Regions from separate parts of the Homo sapiens genome. Here regions 1 and 3 are each linked to region 2. Evidence: promoter capture Hi-C in human tissues and cell types (Jung and others, 2019). All regions are on one chromosome and are shown on one strand. The core of a region is centred on a gene start or on the middle of the fragment in contact, and the rest is flanking DNA. Distances in the headings are between cores, read along the strand shown. Region 1 overlaps LOC124906097 (a long non-coding RNA gene). Region 2 holds the start of CDCA7 (cell division cycle associated 7). Region 3 overlaps SCRN3 (secernin 3).

The links. The method cuts DNA at HindIII sites, captures the fragments that hold promoters and counts their contacts. A contact is called where the count stands out against the background at its distance.
Region 1: a contact is called between a fragment that was not itself captured here and the fragment with the promoter of CDCA7 in region 2, in 1 of the 25 tissues and cell types used here (lymphoblastoid cells).
Region 3: a contact is called between a fragment that was not itself captured here and the fragment with the promoter of CDCA7 in region 2, in 1 of the 25 tissues and cell types used here (lymphoblastoid cells).

What each region holds. Positions count from the first base shown.
Region 1 is chr2:174,519,667-174,522,366 of GRCh38, reverse strand. It overlaps LOC124906097 (a long non-coding RNA gene), which reads left to right. Exons shown (of 3, transcript XR_007087309.1): 3 at 1-1,144. Among named protein-coding and RNA genes, the nearest start is that of GPR155-DT, 34 kb to the right of the region's middle. The HindIII fragment of the contact is 3,674 bases long and covers 1-2,700 here.
Region 2 is chr2:173,353,449-173,356,173 of GRCh38, reverse strand. CDCA7 (cell division cycle associated 7) reads right to left here and starts at 1,302. Exons shown (of 10, transcript NM_031942.5): 1 at 1,190-1,302. The coding sequence starts at 1,210. RefSeq lists a silencer at 1,091-1,360 and enhancers at 1,911-2,000, 1,303-2,258. The HindIII fragment of the contact is 8,581 bases long and covers 1-2,725 here.
Region 3 is chr2:174,398,035-174,400,734 of GRCh38, reverse strand. It overlaps SCRN3 (secernin 3), which reads right to left. Exons shown (of 8, transcript NM_024583.5): 2 at 2,293-2,460; 3 at 632-813. The coding sequence starts at 2,451. Among named protein-coding and RNA genes, the nearest start is that of SCRN3, 3.7 kb to the right of the region's middle. The HindIII fragment of the contact is 4,447 bases long and covers 1-2,700 here.

The DNA.
Region 1 (2,700 bases), core at 60-2,559, 1.2 Mb before region 2:
GAATAAATTTTTCAAGGTCCATCTATTGTGAAAAGCAAAATTTAAAAAATCATAACTTGAAATAAGGCACTGCAGCTTCCAGGTTTTGACTAATATTAACCAAAAAAAACAAAAGAAAGAGAAAGAAAGAGAGATGAAGATTAAAGCAGATATCTCAGGGTTTTTACCATCTTTAAAGTAATAACGTAAAGACTTTAAGCAAATGTATTCTTTTCTGTTATTCAGTTAGTTCCCATTTGGCAACTGCTTAATTATCTCATGGTCCCATTTCAATGTCGAGAGATTGCAAGCTTTTAACAGAAATTCAGGTTGAGAAGGAACTATGAAAAATAGAAAATATTGTTGCCAAATACCATGGCAACAACTGTAGCCTGCAGACCTTTTCACGATACTGCATCTTTCCCCTACCTATTGTCTAGCCTTGGCAGTAACCATTTTTATGGATTAGGTTCTCTTGTGGCTTCATCTCACTTTTCTACCTCTTATTCTTCCTTTGTTTCATTTTTGTTCCTTATTTTAAATGTTTTTTTTCTTGCCATACCTCTGTAGGATAATTTAACACAATGAAATCCTTTTGGAACAAGCTGGGTTATAAATAAATTAATAATAATGCTAATGTACTGTCTTGTAATTGCACTAATGTGTGGGTTTGGATGAAATTGACATTTTGAAGGTAGTATCTCATATAGTAGTAAACTCAGCATGTCAGAACTCAGAGCTAAATATGCAAAACAGCGACAGTGCTGAAAAAAATCTTGGATCTCGGTGTAATAGTTGAATGTCTTTGGATGCAAATGATGGAAATGGATTCTGACTAACAGAAGCAAAAAGAGACTTTTAACAGGGTGCTAGCTAGGAACTCAGGATAGATGGGAGGCTGGAGAGCCAAATCAGGACACAAGACAGGAATGAAGGCAATTCCTGGAGTCCAGGCAGCATGAACAACTGAAGGATCTTATCTGGGTGCTGCTCCTCCAGTATATGTGTTCCAATATTTTCCCATTCCTTATGCGCCTCCACTCAAGATGAAAAGTTCCAAGAGTACAGTCTGCTTGATGTTTGCTGGGCATTCACAGATTTATAGTACTAAAAATATGTGAGACCAGGTGCAGTGGCTCATGCCTGTAATCCCAGCACTTTGGGAGGCCAAGGCAAGAGAATCACTTGAGTCCAGGAATTCGAGACCAGCCTGGGCAACATAGTGAGACAGTGTCTCTACAGATAAATAAATAAATAAGTTAGCCAGGCGTGGTGGTGCACATCTGTAGTACCAGCTACTTGGGAGGCTAAGGTGGGAGGATTGCTTGAGCCAGGGAGTTCAAAACTGCATACAGTGAGTGGTGATCGCACCACTGTACTCCAGTCTGAGTGACTGACAGAGATCTTCTCTCTCTAAAAAAAAAAGGAAATTTAGTATGGAATGAAAGCTCTCTTGAAAGTTTGCCAAAACATAAAATAGCATACATTTGGGAAAAGAAGTTATCCCAGGAGTCCAGTTGTCTTACTTTGGGTCACATGTAGCTCCTTGGTTGCAGAGAGGAGATGAGAAATATTGAGTTACATTCCGATCAAGACTGTCCTCCAACTGGAAGATGCAATAGGAAATTGGGGTACTCCTGGGAAGGGTGCTCTTGGTTGCTGGCCACCGAAAAAACAACGTATGTGCATTACATTACAGCAAGAGTAGATTGTAAGTTTCTGTGTTGTATTCTAAAGCTCTAGCGTGGGGCAAGTAGTGTCTCTGAAAAGTGCATATCCATGCAGAACCTCAGAATGCAACTTTGTATAGAAATAGAGTTACTGCTGATGTTATTAGTTAAGGATCAAGACGAGACCTCACTGGATTAGAGTGGACCGTAAATCTAATGATTGTCTTTATAAGAGTCAAAACAGCAAGCACAGAGACACACAGAGAAGCAAGTGATGTGAAGACGGAGGCAGAGATTGGAGCAATGCACCCACCAGGCAAGGAACACCAAGGATTGCCGGGTCGCCAAAAGCTAAGAAAGAGGCATGAGGAGGTTTCTCCCTCGGAGCTTCTAGGAGGAACTAAGCTTACCCACACTTTGATTTGGGACTTCTGGCCTCCTGAATGGTGACAGAATACATTTCTGTTGTTTTAAGCTACTCATTTTGTGCCACTTGGTTATAGCAGCCATTGGAACCTAATGCAACCCCTAAGAGCAGATTTTTTGGCAAAACCCTAAGAAGTAAAACCATGAGAATAAGCACATGGTAAATGCATTTTTGTGACTGTGAATACAAATGCATTTTTGTGACAGTGAACCTAATGCAACCCCTAAGAGCAGATTCTTTGGCAAAACCCTAAGAAGTGAAACCATGAGAATAGGCACATGGCAAATGCATTTTGTGACAGTGAATACATTTTGTGACAGTGTATTCCTTTTTATTTCAAAAGAGAATAAATCTATGAATGGTTTAGTTCATTTATGCCACAAAGAGCTATTGAGTCCCTCTTATGTGCTGGGACATTCTAGGACCTGGAAATACAGGGGTGAACCAATGGGACAGACTCACTAATCTCAGAGGGCTTGTACTCAGAGGGTTAACAGTAAACAAGACATATTGGGGTTGAGATCAGAGCCAAGAGGAGAGCAAAGCCGGATGATGTGACCTAACATGATGGACAGGAAGTGGGGAGCCCGTTCAGATTGGTGGTCAGGCAAGGAGAAGAGAGCT
Region 2 (2,725 bases), core at 53-2,552:
TTGGCAGGTAAGTAATAACTAATACCATTTATAGTAGGCGTTTTTCGTGCCAGGCACTATGTTAAGTACACTTTCACGTCAGGTTTAATTCTTTGCAACAAAGGTGCTATCGTTATTCTCACTTAGCCAATGAGGAAACTGAGGCTCAGGAAAGCGAAATGGATTACTCAAGTCCCATGGTGGCTCAGATTTGAACTCAGGCATGTCAGGTTCCAAGACCAGCTACACATGGTTTTCTTCATCCGGAAAGCCAATGCCCAGCTCCACCGGGGCGGCGACTCAGCTCTGAAACCACGCCCCATCGCACCCACCCCCGCGAGGGTCCCTAACCCCTGATATTTATTTTAAACATGTCATTGTCTTCCGTTTCACCCAACCCCCACTCTTCTACCCTCTCCAGGAGCCCGACCCTACGTTCTGGCTTCCGTTAGAGCAAAAAGTAACGTTCCACTCAGAGCAACGTCCTGCAGCTAAGAGTAAGGCTGGGGGGTGGGGGGTGGGGGGTTGGGGGTTGGGGTGGAGGAAGTAGGAAACGAGCAAATGGTCGGCGAACGCTTTGACCCACCAAGCCCTTTAAATGCACTTAACCACCGCCCGGGACTACGGTCGCTTCACACTGCGTGCGCAGCCCAAGTTCTAGGAGACCGGTTCGCAAGACCTTAAACCTCAGACGCGCTGGCCCTCAGCGGTTAGAAGCGGACGCGTCTCTTGCCGGGCGGGGTGCGCGCCCAAGGGCCACCCACTGAGCGCGGGTATAGACGCGGCGAGCCACGCACTGGCTCCGAGTTGTGTGCGGGAAAGGGCTGGGCCGCTGCGGGACAACCTCCCAGGGGGCAGGCAGGCTGGCTCTGCCTGGCAGGCAAAATCGGGACCGGCCAGCGCTCCCGGCCGCTGTCCGGCCTTTGGCGGACGCACGTGCCTAGGGCTTTCCAGCGCTGCTAGCCATCCTGCAAACGACTCAAGTCTCCACGCCGCCCGCACTTCGGGTGCGCACGCCACGCAGGAACGTCCCCATGGCCCTCAGTTATCCCAGGTGCACAAAATCAGGGGCTTGCCCAAGCGGGCAACGCCTAGGCAGGCCACCAGTTAAGGCAGCGCTAGGCTGCGGAGTTGGAGAGGGTCGGCCCGCGCCCGCCTGCGTCCAGCACCCACCGCGCCCGCCCCTCGGGTTCGCCCGCCCAGCCCTCACCGGCACGCGGCGAGCGTCCATGCTGGTGGCGGGTGCCCAGATCGGCGCTTGGAGCGGGGAGAGCGGAGCAGCCGCGCGGTCAGCGGTCCCACAGCAGGAGGAGCAGCAGCAGCGCGGCTGGCAGGCTGGGCGCGCCGACCCGGGCCCGGAGGGGCGGGGCTCGGGCTGTCTTTCCCGCGTTGGGACACAGGTCCTGCAAGCTGTGGTAACGGCCAGACATGGCGCAAGACTAGGTGGCCCCCTGGAAAAAACACGACCCCCCTATATATTCTGACCTCAAAGGATAGCCTTGGGCACTCCTAAAATCCCCTTTGAGAAAGGGGGGCTTTAGGGGCTACGGGGACCACTCTCCTTGTGCAGCTGCGCGGTCCTGAGCGAGTGGCGCGAAAATGGTTCGTATTGCCCCGGGGTTAGCTGTCTGATTTGCAAGAATTTTCGTGGTGGCGGAGGAAAAGTGGAGTCTGGGGGGTAAAGGAGAGCAGCGTGAGGGTGGCGCGGGTCACGCACCATGGCGTTTAGCACTTTCATTGCTGCGTGCGGTTTACAAGATTTAAAAAATCATAGAATCCAGCACGAACTCCACCCTTCATAATCGAGTTCACCGCCCCTGGATGTAGCACCTCTTATCTGGGAACCACACCATTATCTGAAGCAATAAAATGAGTTAAATCCTGATCTTTCTTTCCAAAAAGCACAGGAAGCCGACTTGTTTACTTGTGGTTTTCAAAGTAGAAGAAAAGCCGCAGCAGCTTGATGAAGACGTCTATAGTATAGTTAACCTTTAACGATTATCTGTTGGGGATTGAAACTAAAGATTGAACAATTGTGGCTTGATGATCTTCTCTGTCTTCAGAATTGAGAACTACCCTGAGTCAGTGCGAACGAGAAAACTTTTCATTGCCCTTTTAACCAAACTTGGCATTACAACGAAAAAATGAAATAAAGCGAGGCTTTTTGTGTGCGTGAAGAGCAAAACTTGCTTCTACAAGAAAAAGTAAATTTAGTTTCTTTAGAAGACACTAATTATACTCTTAACATTTAAAACAAGCGCTTGAAATGAAAACATTCGCATTTCCCCCTCATTTCAAAACTTTTCTCTGGGGAATAATTAATTCCTTTGCAGTAAGAGAGTGCATGGACATACTGTGTTCCTCTCTTGGTGTACTGAATACAAAAACTGTGAGCAAGTAAATAATGCCCGAGGACAATGGATTGGAAGGAGTCTTCCAGCCTTTCTTAAATATACCTACCCAGTAATCACTCTGCCACTGTGCAAGGGACAAAGAGCTCAAGGTCTAGAAGGTGAGTGCCAGGAGGAGAGGCTATCGGTGGGTGGTGAAATTACGGAATTACAGGGCCCTCAGTAAGTATTTGTTGAATGAATAAACATTTGGGAATATAATTTTGTGCCACTAAAGCTAAATATATGAAAATTTGGAATTACTAGATCCATGAAGCAGGGGAAGATTAAGTCACTTTGCCTGTGAAAGGTTCTGATAGGGAAATTTTTAGTCTTCCTGGGAGCACAAGAAAATA
Region 3 (2,700 bases), core at 163-2,662, 1.0 Mb before region 2:
TATCTCATTTGTAAAATGAGCACGATAGCCCATGAGGTTATTGTGAGAATTAGTTAAGGTGTGATTAAAGTATGTTAGGTACTTCCAATGAATTATAATTTCCTACTTCTTCCCTTCTCCCAAATAATAATATCTGAAAGCTGGGCATGGTGCCTGTGCTGGTAATCCCAGTTACTCAGGAGCTGAGGCAGGAGAATGGCTAGAGGCCAGGAGTTCAAGACAAGTATAAGCAACATAGCAAGACCCTAGTCTCTGAAAAAAAAATTTTTTTTAATTAAAAATTAGCCAGGTGTGGTGGCACGTGCCTTTGATCCAAGCTACTTGGGTGACTTAGGTGGGATGATTGCTTGAGCTCAGGAATTCAAGGGCACAGTGAGCCATGATCACACCATTATACTCCAGCCTGCATGACACAGTGAGATCTCATCTCAAAAAAATAAAAATTAATTAATTTTAAAAAACCAAACAAAACTGAGAGTCATGAAATTGCATGCCGGTACTTTAAACCATTTTGACACAAACTGCAAAGTATCAAAGCCCCCTCAAAAATAGGAAAATAAAACAAGTAAGAGTTACACAAAAATTATAAATTTAGACAAGGTCTGTAGTATAAAATGTAACAAAAAATAACCTGACAAGGTCCATTCCTAATAGTGCTTCTTCATCACAAACTTCTTCTCTTCCCCATACAGCTTCATTCCCAATGCAAACTCCATGCTCATTGGCTCCCATTTCTGCCCCCCACAACCACGCTGGGCGACTCAGGACAACAGCATATGTTTCAGGAACTTGATCAATTTCTATATATGTACACTGTAAAAAAAAAAAAAAAAAAGTCATAGCAAGAACCACAAAACCAGAAAAGTTATCAAAATCCAGAATTTAAAAAAATCAGTCAGAAGACAAAACTGTTATGAAAGAGGTAAAGGAAATATAAGTAAATTGAAATTTTCAATAATAAAGGCATTACCCTTAAAACATATTCAGAATAACCCTAAAATATTTATTCATTCAAATATTTGCTGAGCATTTCCTATTATAAAACATTCTGCCAAGAGATATGTTAGTTACAAAGATGAATCAGATAAAGATCTCACTTTTGAGAAACTAAAACTTCTACATTAAGATAAAATAAAGTATAAAGTATTAGGGTCATGAAGTGAAGACAAGGTGCTATTGGAGCTCAGGAGAAAGATGGTCTCTAGCTGTAATATCTTGAAACATTTTTGTAGATGTGTGAGTTGAAGCTTAAGGAAGTAGTTCTCAACCTCAATATCCAGTGTTTCTTGATTAGTGATATAATTACTCACATGGTAGCCTTCGAATACAAGAGTTTTGTCATAGGAATCTCACATCACATTTTGAAGTCAACCATTAGGTATGCCCACAGCAATGAAAAGAATGAGAACCACTGGTTTACAGGACAGGCTATATTTAAATATGAAGAAATAAAGTGGAAGTGGTATCACAGATGAATAAGTGGTCTTAGCAAAAGAAAAAAATATGGCATAGGATACAGAAAAAAGTCTAATATTTAATATGTTTTAATATTAGAATATCAATAAAATAAAATCTAAAAAGTATGAATTAGCAACAATAGCATAATTTGAAGCTCTCATTTTAAGTTCCACATTAAATGGGTTTTTAAAATAAGTTTTTAAAGGATCCTTTAATTAATGTGTATACTACCAAGTGACTGCATAAAATGTATATTGATAGTGTTAACATAGGGCCTAATAAACCTTTTTTGATGTGTCATAAAACTGTCATTCCTAAAGTCTGGGATGACTTTCCTATTCTACATCAAGTAGAACCTAAGCCAATTCAGAATCAGAATCCTTTTTGTCCATCAAATTCCAGCTAACTCCAAGCTGAATTAAATGTTCATTCTCTTCCGCTGCCACAGCATGCTACTGTTACTTAAATTTAGCATTTAAACCATCCTATTTTATAATGGGGTATAATGCATACACATCTTATTGCTATACTAGACTCTAAGCTCCTGGAACAGAGTCTTGACAGCTGACTTTAAATCTCTTGCCCTATCTAACATGCTTGCATATGGAAAGCATTCAAATATTTATTCAAACAATGGATAATTTTATTATTGTTATTTCAACGTCCTCCGAATCACTGAAATAAAAGATCACAGTTTATTTCTGACTCATTTATTTTTCAAATGTAAACTCCTCAATTTTAACTTCTACAGTTTCTTCCAAATTGCTATGTATAGAAATAACTTTATGATATTTTTAAAAGGCATATTGCTAACAAAACATTTATTTCACCTACCTTAAGACGTTCTCCCAGGTTATCATGAACTACAGCAGGAAAATAAACCACCTCTTGTACTTCATCATAGAGTCTATCTGAATTTTTTCCAAAAATAATCCTGTTATCGACTGTTGCTGGAGGTAATGCCACGAAAGTGTCACAGGAAAAAGGTTCCATTTTTTTTAACTAAAAATTATACAGATGTTTTAAAATAAAAAGAACACTTTTAAGTATATAAAAATAAAGAGTTTTACTCAATGACCAAAGGATATTATTGCCATATCTAATTAAGGATGTTCATTAAAGCTTTGATTTTTTTATTTTTATTTTTTGGAGACAAGGTCTAGCTCTTTCACCCAGGCTGGAGTGCAGTTGTATGATCAGGGCTTACTGCAGCCTGGAACTCCTGGGCTCAGGAGATCCTCC